Regions from separate parts of the Homo sapiens genome. Here all the other regions are linked to region 2. Evidence: promoter capture Hi-C in 16 types of primary human blood cells and fetal thymus (Javierre and others, 2016). All regions are on one chromosome and are shown on one strand. Each heading gives the region's core, a stretch centred on a gene start or on the middle of the fragment in contact. The rest is flanking DNA. Distances are from core to core; before and after follow the strand shown. Region 1 overlaps LIPE (lipase E, hormone sensitive type). Region 2 holds the start of DEDD2 (death effector domain containing 2). Region 3 overlaps CXCL17 (C-X-C motif chemokine ligand 17).

Region 1 (2,700 bases), core at 24-2,523, 200 kb after region 2:
AGTTGCTCACTTTGTGTCTCTGTGTCACATTCTGGTAATTTTCACAGTGTTTCACACTTTTTCATTATTATTATATTTGTTATGATGATCTGTGATCAATGATCTCTGGTGTTACTATTGTGAGTGGGGGCACCACCAACCATGTCCACGTAAGAGGGCGAACTTTACCGATTAATGCTGTGTGTGTTCTGACTGCTCCACTGACCAGCCATTTCCCCCATCTCTCTTCTCGAGCCTCCATATTCCCTAAGACATACAATATTGAGGCCGGGCACGGTGGCTAATGCCTGTAATCCCAGCACTTTGGGAGGCTGAGGCAGGTGGATCACTTGAGGTCAGGAGGTTGAGACCAGCCTGGCCAACATGCTGAAACCCCATCTCTACTAAAAATACAAAAATTAGCTGGGCATGGTGGTGTGTGCCTGTAATCCCAGCTACTCGGGAGGCTGAGGCAGGAGAATCGCTTGAACCCGGGAGGTGGAGGTTGTAGTGAGCCAAGATCACACCATTGTACTCCAGCCTGGAAAATAGAGCGAGAGTCTGTCTCAAATAAATGAAATGAGATGAAAAATAGAATAAAATAAAATAGAAATCAGGCCAATTAACAACCCTACAATGACCTCAAAGTGTTCAAGTGAAAGAAGAGTCTTATGTCTCTCATTTTAAATCAAAAGCCAGAAGTGATTAAGCTTAGTGAGGAAGGCATGTCCAGTGCTGAAACGGGCTAAAAACTAGGCCTCTTCTGCCAGTTAGCTAAGTTGTGAATGCAAAGGAAAAATTCATGAAAGTAATTAAAAGTGCTACTCCAGTGAACACATGAATGATAAGAAAGTGAACCAGTCTTAGCTGGGCATGGTGGCTCATGCCTGTAATCCCAGCACTTTGGGAGGCCGAGGCGGGCGGATCACGAAGTCAGGAGATCGGGACCATCCTGGCTAACACGGTGAAACCCCAGCTCTACTAAAAATACAAAAAATCAGCCGGGCGTGGTGGTGGGTGCCTGTAGTCCCAGCTACTAGGGAGGCTGAGGCAGGAGAATGGCGTGAACCTGGGAAGCGGAGCTTGTAGTGAGCCGAGATCGCGCCACTGCACTCCAGCCTGGGTGACAGAGTGAGACTCCGTCTGGAAAAAAAAAAAAAAAGTGAACTAGGCTTATTGTGGATATGGAGAAAGTCTGAACGGTCTGGATAGAAGGTCAAACCAGCCACATTTCCTTAAGCCAAAGCCTAATCCCAAGCGAAGCCCTATCCCTCTTCAATTCTTTGAAGGGTGAGAGAGGTGAGGAAGCTGCAGAAAAAAGGTTGGAAGCTAGCAGAGGTGGATTCATGAGATTTAAGGAAAGAAGGCATCTCTGTAACATAAAAGTGCAGGGTGACGGCCGGGCATCGTGGCTCACGATTGTAATCCCAGCACTTTGGGAGGCTGAGGCAGGTGGATCACCTGAGGTCGGGAGTTTGAAACCAGCCTGACCAACATGGAGAAACCCCATCTCAACTTAAAATACAAAAAAGAAGCCGGGCGTGGTGGCGCATGCCTGTAATCCCAGCTACTTGGGAGGCTGAGGCAGGAGAATCACTTGAACCTGGGAGGCGGTGGTTGCAGTGAGCCGAGATCGTGCCATTGCACTCCAGCCTGAGCAACAAGAGTGAAACTTTGTCTCAAAAAAAAAAGTGCAAGGTGATGTAGCAAGTGCTGCTGGAGGAGCCGCAGCAAGTTATGCAGAAGATCTAGCTAAGATCATTGATGAAGACGGCTACATTAAGCAACATATTTTCAGTGTAGATAAAACCACCAGGTATTGGAAGAAGATGCCATCCAGGACTTTCCTAGCTGGAGGGGAGGTCAGTGCCTGGGCGCCAAAGCTTCAAGGCCAGGCTGACCCCCTTGTTAGGGGCTAATGCAGCTGGTGACTCAGTTGAAGCCGGTGTTCATTTATCATTCCAGAAATTCTAGGGCCCTCAGGATTACGCCAAATGTACTCTGCCTATGCTCTTAAATGGAACAAAGCCTGGATGACAGCACGTCTGTTTACAGCATGGTTTACTGAATATTTCAAGCCCACTGTTGAGACGGACTGCACAGAAAACAACAAAATATTTCTCAATGACAATGCATGTGGTTACCAAAGGGCCCTGGTGGAGTAGATTAATGTGTTTTCATGCCCGCTAACACATGATCTGTTCTGCAGCCCACCAGCCAAGGAGTAATTTCGACTTTTAAGTCTTGTTATTTGTTATTATTATTATATTTTTTTGAGACGGAGTCTCGCTCTGTCGCCCAGGTTGGAGTGCAGTGGCGCAATCTCAGCTCACTGCAAGCTCCGCCTCCCGGGTTCACGCCATTCTCCTGCCTCAGCCTCCTGAGTAGCTGGGACGACAGGCGCCCGCCACCACACCTGGCTAATTTTTTGTATTTTTAGTAGAGACGGGGTTTCACCATGTTAGCTAGGATGGTCTCGATCTCCTGACCTCGTGATTCGCCTGCCTCGGCCTCCCAAAATGCTGGGATTACAGGCGTGAGCCACTGCGCCCGGCCAATTTCAACTTTTAAGTCTTATTATTTGTTATTCTTATTTTTAAAATTTTTAGTTTTAGAGATGGATTCTTGCTGTGTCACCTGGGCTGGAGTGTAGTGGCACGATCATACCTCACTGCAGCCTTGAACTTCTGGGCTCAAGTGATCCTCCTACTTCAGCCTCCT
Region 2 (2,700 bases), core at 99-2,598:
TCTCTGAACTTGTTATTTTCTTGGTTACAGTGAAGACAGTAACAGGACTTCCTTGTGAGATTACTGGGAGACTATAAGGCACTAGTTCATATGAAGGGCTGACAGCTGTGCCTGGCATGAAACAAGCCCTCCGTAAACAGTGGCCAAAATCATCATCACTGATGTGGCCAAATTCCCAAAGCCATGCTTTCTTCCTCTTATGTTGCTCATTGATATTGTGGGAAGAGAGAGTAGCAGAATGGGACATAAGCTGCCTGATATGGCACTGTCCGTATCAGGGCACCAGGGAGGCCCAGCGGGAGCCAGGCCCTTTCCTCCCAGGAAGTGTGACACCCTCCCATTCAACCGTACCTGGCCGGCGCCGCTTGCGCGCCAGGTGCGGCAGCAGGTCGTGGCGGGCCAGCACGCGCAGGAGTTGCCCCAGCAGCCGCAGGTTGCTCTCGTCGCACTGCCCGCGGCGCTCCAGCTCCAGCAGGAGCTCTAGGCCGCTGCGGGCCCGGGCTAAGCCTCCGGCGGCGCCAGGAGCCTCATCCAGCAGAAAGGCCAGGAGCTCCAGCTCGCACTCGGTCAGTTGCCCGCCCACCACCTCGAACATACGGTGAAGCGACAGCATCCCGTAGTAGTCCAGGCACTCATCCTCCTCCCAGCACGGGGCCGGGGTCGACCCGGATAGCGCCATTCCCGGGGGAGGGAGGCGGAACAAGCTCAGAACCCGGCCTAGAACCCACACAGCGGGGAGGGGGCAGTGGTCAGCGACGCGGAGGCCCGAACCCCACACCGCCAGCGCGTCTCCCCCGCCCAATCGCGCCGGGCAGGGCCGCTCCCGCACCCCCAACCGCCTCGGCCTCCCCCTCCCCCGGGAGGGAATGGTCCCGCCCGAGGTCCCCTAAGAACAGGTCGGGACGCCGGAGCCCGCTCGGCTTCTGCCCCCACCACCGTGCTACGTTCGGAGCTCGCCTCCGGACCTGACCAAACGATGCGGCCCAAACAAGCCTCGGGGCCCACCCCGGGGCTCCCTGCTGACTGCCCCTGACTCTGGGTAGGACTGCCCAGACGAGCCCCTTTTCTCCGTCCAGCGGTACCGTCTGATGAGTCCCCCGGCTCTACGCAAGTGGTACCTCCCGAAAGTGACCCTCTGCCCCCTACACAGAGGAGCGACCCAGGCAGCCCCTTTGCTCCACACAGGTGGTACCGTCCGAACCCGACCCCCTCGCCCTGCAAGGGCGGCCCCGCCCGCTCCCCAGAGCCCAGGTGGTCCTGTCTACCCGCCACCAGTCACCATTAGGCCTCTCTGGATCCTCACCAGATTCTGGCGTCCGATGACTCCTGGGCGACGGCCGCAGCCACTTGTTTTGGATCTTTCTGGCACCTTCTCTATTATTACGCCTGCGTCACCTCGCCCCTCCTCCTTCCCCCAACTCGCGCAGGTGCGACCGCCACGCCCCTTCGGCGCATGCGCAGAACGAGGCCTCCAAGCCCCGCCCTTCCTGGGCCGCTTGACCTGCCCCCAACCGAAGCATCTTGGTTCGCGAGTGCTGCGCTTGCGCAGAGCGAGAGCACGCCGCCTCTTGGGCTGTATCTGGTACCCGGTTCCAGGTCCCTACTTCCTGCCCGTGACTCAAGCCACCGGGGCCATGTAGCGCCACGTCACGAGTAGTTGTAACTACTCATCTCATAAACTACAGCCCCCTCCTGATCACGAGCTAGACGCCCACATCACCACTGCCCCTAGTTGCCCGTGGCAAAGTAACACAATCACTACTTTCCCGTCTCCCAGTAAACTCCCAGGCCTTATATGATCTGGTCCTGGGCACTCCTCCATTAGATTGTCCCTCACTTCTAGTGACAACCAGGGATCTACATCTCAACTGTGCTCTCTCGTGATCCCAAATGGAAATCCCGCCCCCCCACCACCACCCCCGCAGTCTATAAGTTCCTTCCCCTGATCAAAACCAGAATTCCCTCATCTCACGTTCAGGACGGATACCTCCTTCCAAGCGGCAACAGAACCCTCCATTCCGACTGTGTACATCTCGATGGCGTCCATCACGACCCCCATCACAGTCAGATGTCTCCACCCAGAGCCAAAACGGCCCCTCCGTAACCCCTTCCAATCTCTGCCCTCCAGGGTCGCCCAGATACCCGCTCCCTAACTTGCAACAACTAGAGAGGGTCTGTCAGGGAGTCTAGGCTGTGGTGTATGCGTGTCCCCTTACCGCGGGGCCTTGGGTGTGACGGTCGCCACGCCCCCCACTTAGGTGACTCAAGGTCAGGACCTGCATGTACTTGAGACAAGTCCCCTCCCTGGACCTCTTCCCACCCCCGCAATTAACTCCTCTTGGGAGTCGGGAGATCTGGGTCCTGCCTAGCACTGGCCCAGTACTGGCTCTGCCTGAGCTGTAGCAGTGAATTCAAAAGAATCGGCTGCGCGCGGTAGCTCACGTCTGTAATCCCAGCACTTTGAGAAGCCGAGGTGGGCGGATCACACGAGGCCAGGAGTTCGAGACCAGCCTGGCCAACATGATGAAACCCTGTCTGTTCTTAGCCGGATGTGGTGGCACGCGCCTGAAATCCCAACTACTTGGGAGGCTGAGACAAGAGAATCTCTTGAACCAGGGAGCAGTAAGCAGAGATAGTGCCACTGCACTCCAGCCTGGGCCACAGGGCGAGACTTTGTCTCAAGAAACAAACAAACGCCAG
Region 3 (2,700 bases), core at 145-2,644, 220 kb after region 2:
GTGTCATCTTCATAACACATTTTTAATGAATGCATAATACTCTCAATAATTATGTGTTCCAAATTATTTAACTGCTTTCCCATTGCTGAATATTTAGAAAGTTTTATTTTTTAGATGTTGGTAAATTTCTTTGTTCTTGTAACTGTTTTCCAAATTTTAGATTATTTTCTTGAGAGAGAGTTCCCAAAGTGGAATTACTGGGTCAAAAGTTAAGAATTGCTTTCAGAAGAGCTATACTAATGTTTAAATTTTTTTTCATTTAATTATTTATTTATTTTTTTTGAGACGGAGTCTCACTCTGTCGCCCAGGCTGGAGTGCAGTGTTGTGATCTCGGCTCACTGCAACCTCTGCCTCTCGGGTTCAAGCAATTCTCCTTCCTCAGCCTCCCAAGTAGCTGGGATTACAGGCACCCACCACCATGCCTGGCTAATTTTTGTATTTTTAGTAGAGGCAGGTTTTACCATGTTGGTCAGGCTGGTCTTGAACTCTTAACCTCAAGTGATCCGCTCCCCTCGGCCTCCCAAAGCGTTGGGATTATAGGCATGAGATGCTATGCCTGGCCACTTTATACTTTTTCTCTAAACAAATTTATTTTGCAAAACATCCTCATCCTATGCAATATTATCTGTGAAATTACAGGTTTGATGTATGCTTAGTTTTTTCCTAACATGCATTGGAATAAACACATAAATATTAAAGTAAAAAGAAGCTTATTTACTTTCCACCTAAAATCAGTTTTGGGAACCACTGATACAGTGGCATAAGCATGCACTTTATATCCACATAGGCCTGGGGTCAGCTACTGGCTCTGTCACTTAACTGTCGACTTGGACAAGTCACTTGGCTTCTATGATCCTTGATTCCCTGATTTGTGAAAGGAGGGTGGTAAAATCCTCCTTGCAGAGTTGTTGGGAATAAGTGAGCTGCTGTGGGAGCCCAGTGTCCAGGCGGGTGTTGAGTACATGATGGTTATCATTGTGTTTATTGCTGTGGAATTCTGGTTATTTTCCAAAGTGAGTGTCTATGCTGGAATATTGGGCTTGTGGCTTTCTGCTGATGTGGATGTGTAAAGAAGTTACTTCCACTTGTTAGGATTTGTGGTGCATCTGTCATTATTTTCACTTCCCAGATCCACTACATATTTGCTTTGTGATTTTGGACAAAGTTGTGTAACTTTTCTGTGCCTCATTTTCCTAATTTGTAAGATGTGGTTAATAATATTCCTCCCTTATCCACAGGGGATGCATTCCAAGACCCCCAAGATACTTCAAGTCTCAGATAGTACCAAACCCTATATATATATTTTTTCTACACATATACACTTACGATAAAGTCTAATTTATGAATTAGGCACAGTAAGAGATTAACAATAAGATAGAACAATTTTAAAAATATACTGTAATAGGCCAGGTGGGGGCTCACACCTGTAATCCCAGCACTTTGGGAGGCCGAGGCAGGCGGATCACGAGGTCAGGAGATTGAGACCATCCTGGCTAACACGGTGAAACCCCATCTCTACTAAAAATACAAAAAATTAGCCAGGTGTGGTGGCGCACGCCTTTAGTCCCAGCTACTCGGGAGGCTGAGGCAGGAGAATGGTGTGAACCCAGGAGGCAGAGCTTGCAGTGAGCCGAGATTGCACCACTGCACTCCAGCCTGGGCGACAAGAGACTCTGTCTCAAAAAAAAAAAAAAAAAAAAAAAAAAAATATATATATATATATATATATATAAAATACACACACACACACACACACACACACATATATACTGTAATGAAAATGACGTGAATGTGGTCTCTCTCTCTCTTTGTCTCTTTCTCAAGATAACAATATTTTTGGACCACTGTTGGCGGGTAACTGAAACTGCGATTAAGTGGGGACTACTGTACATGAGTGTGCGTGTGTGTTATTTCCCAGCTCTGACCACTAGAGGGCCTAGAAGCACCAGCACCTACTAGCAATGGACCTATCAGTCAGTGCCCATAGTCTGTAAATATCATTCTCCCATGAAAGGAACTAGGGCTTCCAGGAAAAATAGCTGATCCAGGGCTGGGGCAGAAAAACACAAGAGGAGCCCAAAGCTTCTTGTGGTGTCAGAAAGTAAGGAGCTGCTCAAAAAATGGTGGAGATGTGTCTAAAGGTCACAGAAGCCAACTAGAAGGAGCTCCCAATGGCCAATTTTGGGACAATATGAGCAACATAATAAATAATGATAGTAGTGGATTCCAACCCATAAATACTCATGAGTCCATGCTGATATAAATAAATAACTGAACAAATAAATAAATAAGGAAGAGGCTAGGCATGGTGGCTCACGCCTGTAATCCCAGCACTTTGGGAGGCCAAAGTGGGGGGATCACTTGAGGCCAGGAATTAGAGACCAGCCTGGCTAACATGACAAAACCCCGTCTCTACTAAAAATACAAAAATTAGCTGGGTGTGGTGGTGTCTGCCTGTAGTCCCAGCTACTCAGGAGGCTGAGGTGGGAGGATCGCTTGAGCCCAGAAGGTGGAGGCGGCAGTGAGCCAAGATCACACCACTGCACTCCAGCCTAGGCAACAGAGCAAGACTCTATCTCAAAAAAAAAAAAAAAAAAAAAGAAAAAGAAAAAGGAATAACTCTTTCTTATGGCAGAATTCCGATTAAATAAATGTAGAAGGAACAATGGAAGTAGAAAATCACTATTTGGCCAACACCA

What was found. The method cuts DNA at HindIII sites, captures the fragments that hold promoters and counts their contacts. A CHiCAGO score of 5 or more calls a contact.
Region 1: a contact is called between a fragment that was not itself captured here and the fragment with the promoter of DEDD2 in region 2, in 1 of 17 cell types (fetal thymus). The highest score is 7.0, in fetal thymus.
Region 3: a contact is called between a fragment that was not itself captured here and the fragment with the promoter of DEDD2 in region 2, in 2 of 17 cell types (total B cells and fetal thymus). The highest score is 5.4, in total B cells.

The regions. Positions count from the first base shown.
Region 1 is chr19:42,414,685-42,417,384 of GRCh38, forward strand. All of the region lies in intron 1 of LIPE (lipase E, hormone sensitive type), which reads right to left. All of the region lies in intron 1 of LIPE-AS1 (LIPE antisense RNA 1), which reads left to right. Among named protein-coding and RNA genes, the nearest start is that of LIPE, 11 kb to the right of the region's middle. The HindIII fragment of the contact is 1,173 bases long and covers 688-1,860 here.
Region 2 is chr19:42,216,329-42,219,028 of GRCh38, forward strand. It overlaps DEDD2 (death effector domain containing 2), which reads right to left and starts at 1,349. Exons shown (of 5, transcript NM_133328.4): 1 at 1,304-1,349; 2 at 352-717. The coding sequence starts at 679. RefSeq lists silencers at 480-685, 767-826, 837-936 and enhancers at 1,708-2,584, 2,585-2,700. The HindIII fragment of the contact is 12,709 bases long and covers 1-2,700 here.
Region 3 is chr19:42,436,674-42,439,373 of GRCh38, forward strand. All of the region lies in intron 1 of CXCL17 (C-X-C motif chemokine ligand 17), which reads right to left. The region is part of intron 1 of LIPE-AS1 (LIPE antisense RNA 1); the gene reads left to right. Among named protein-coding and RNA genes, the nearest start is that of CXCL17, 4.9 kb to the right of the region's middle. RefSeq lists a silencer at 1,844-2,023. The HindIII fragment of the contact is 1,373 bases long and covers 709-2,081 here.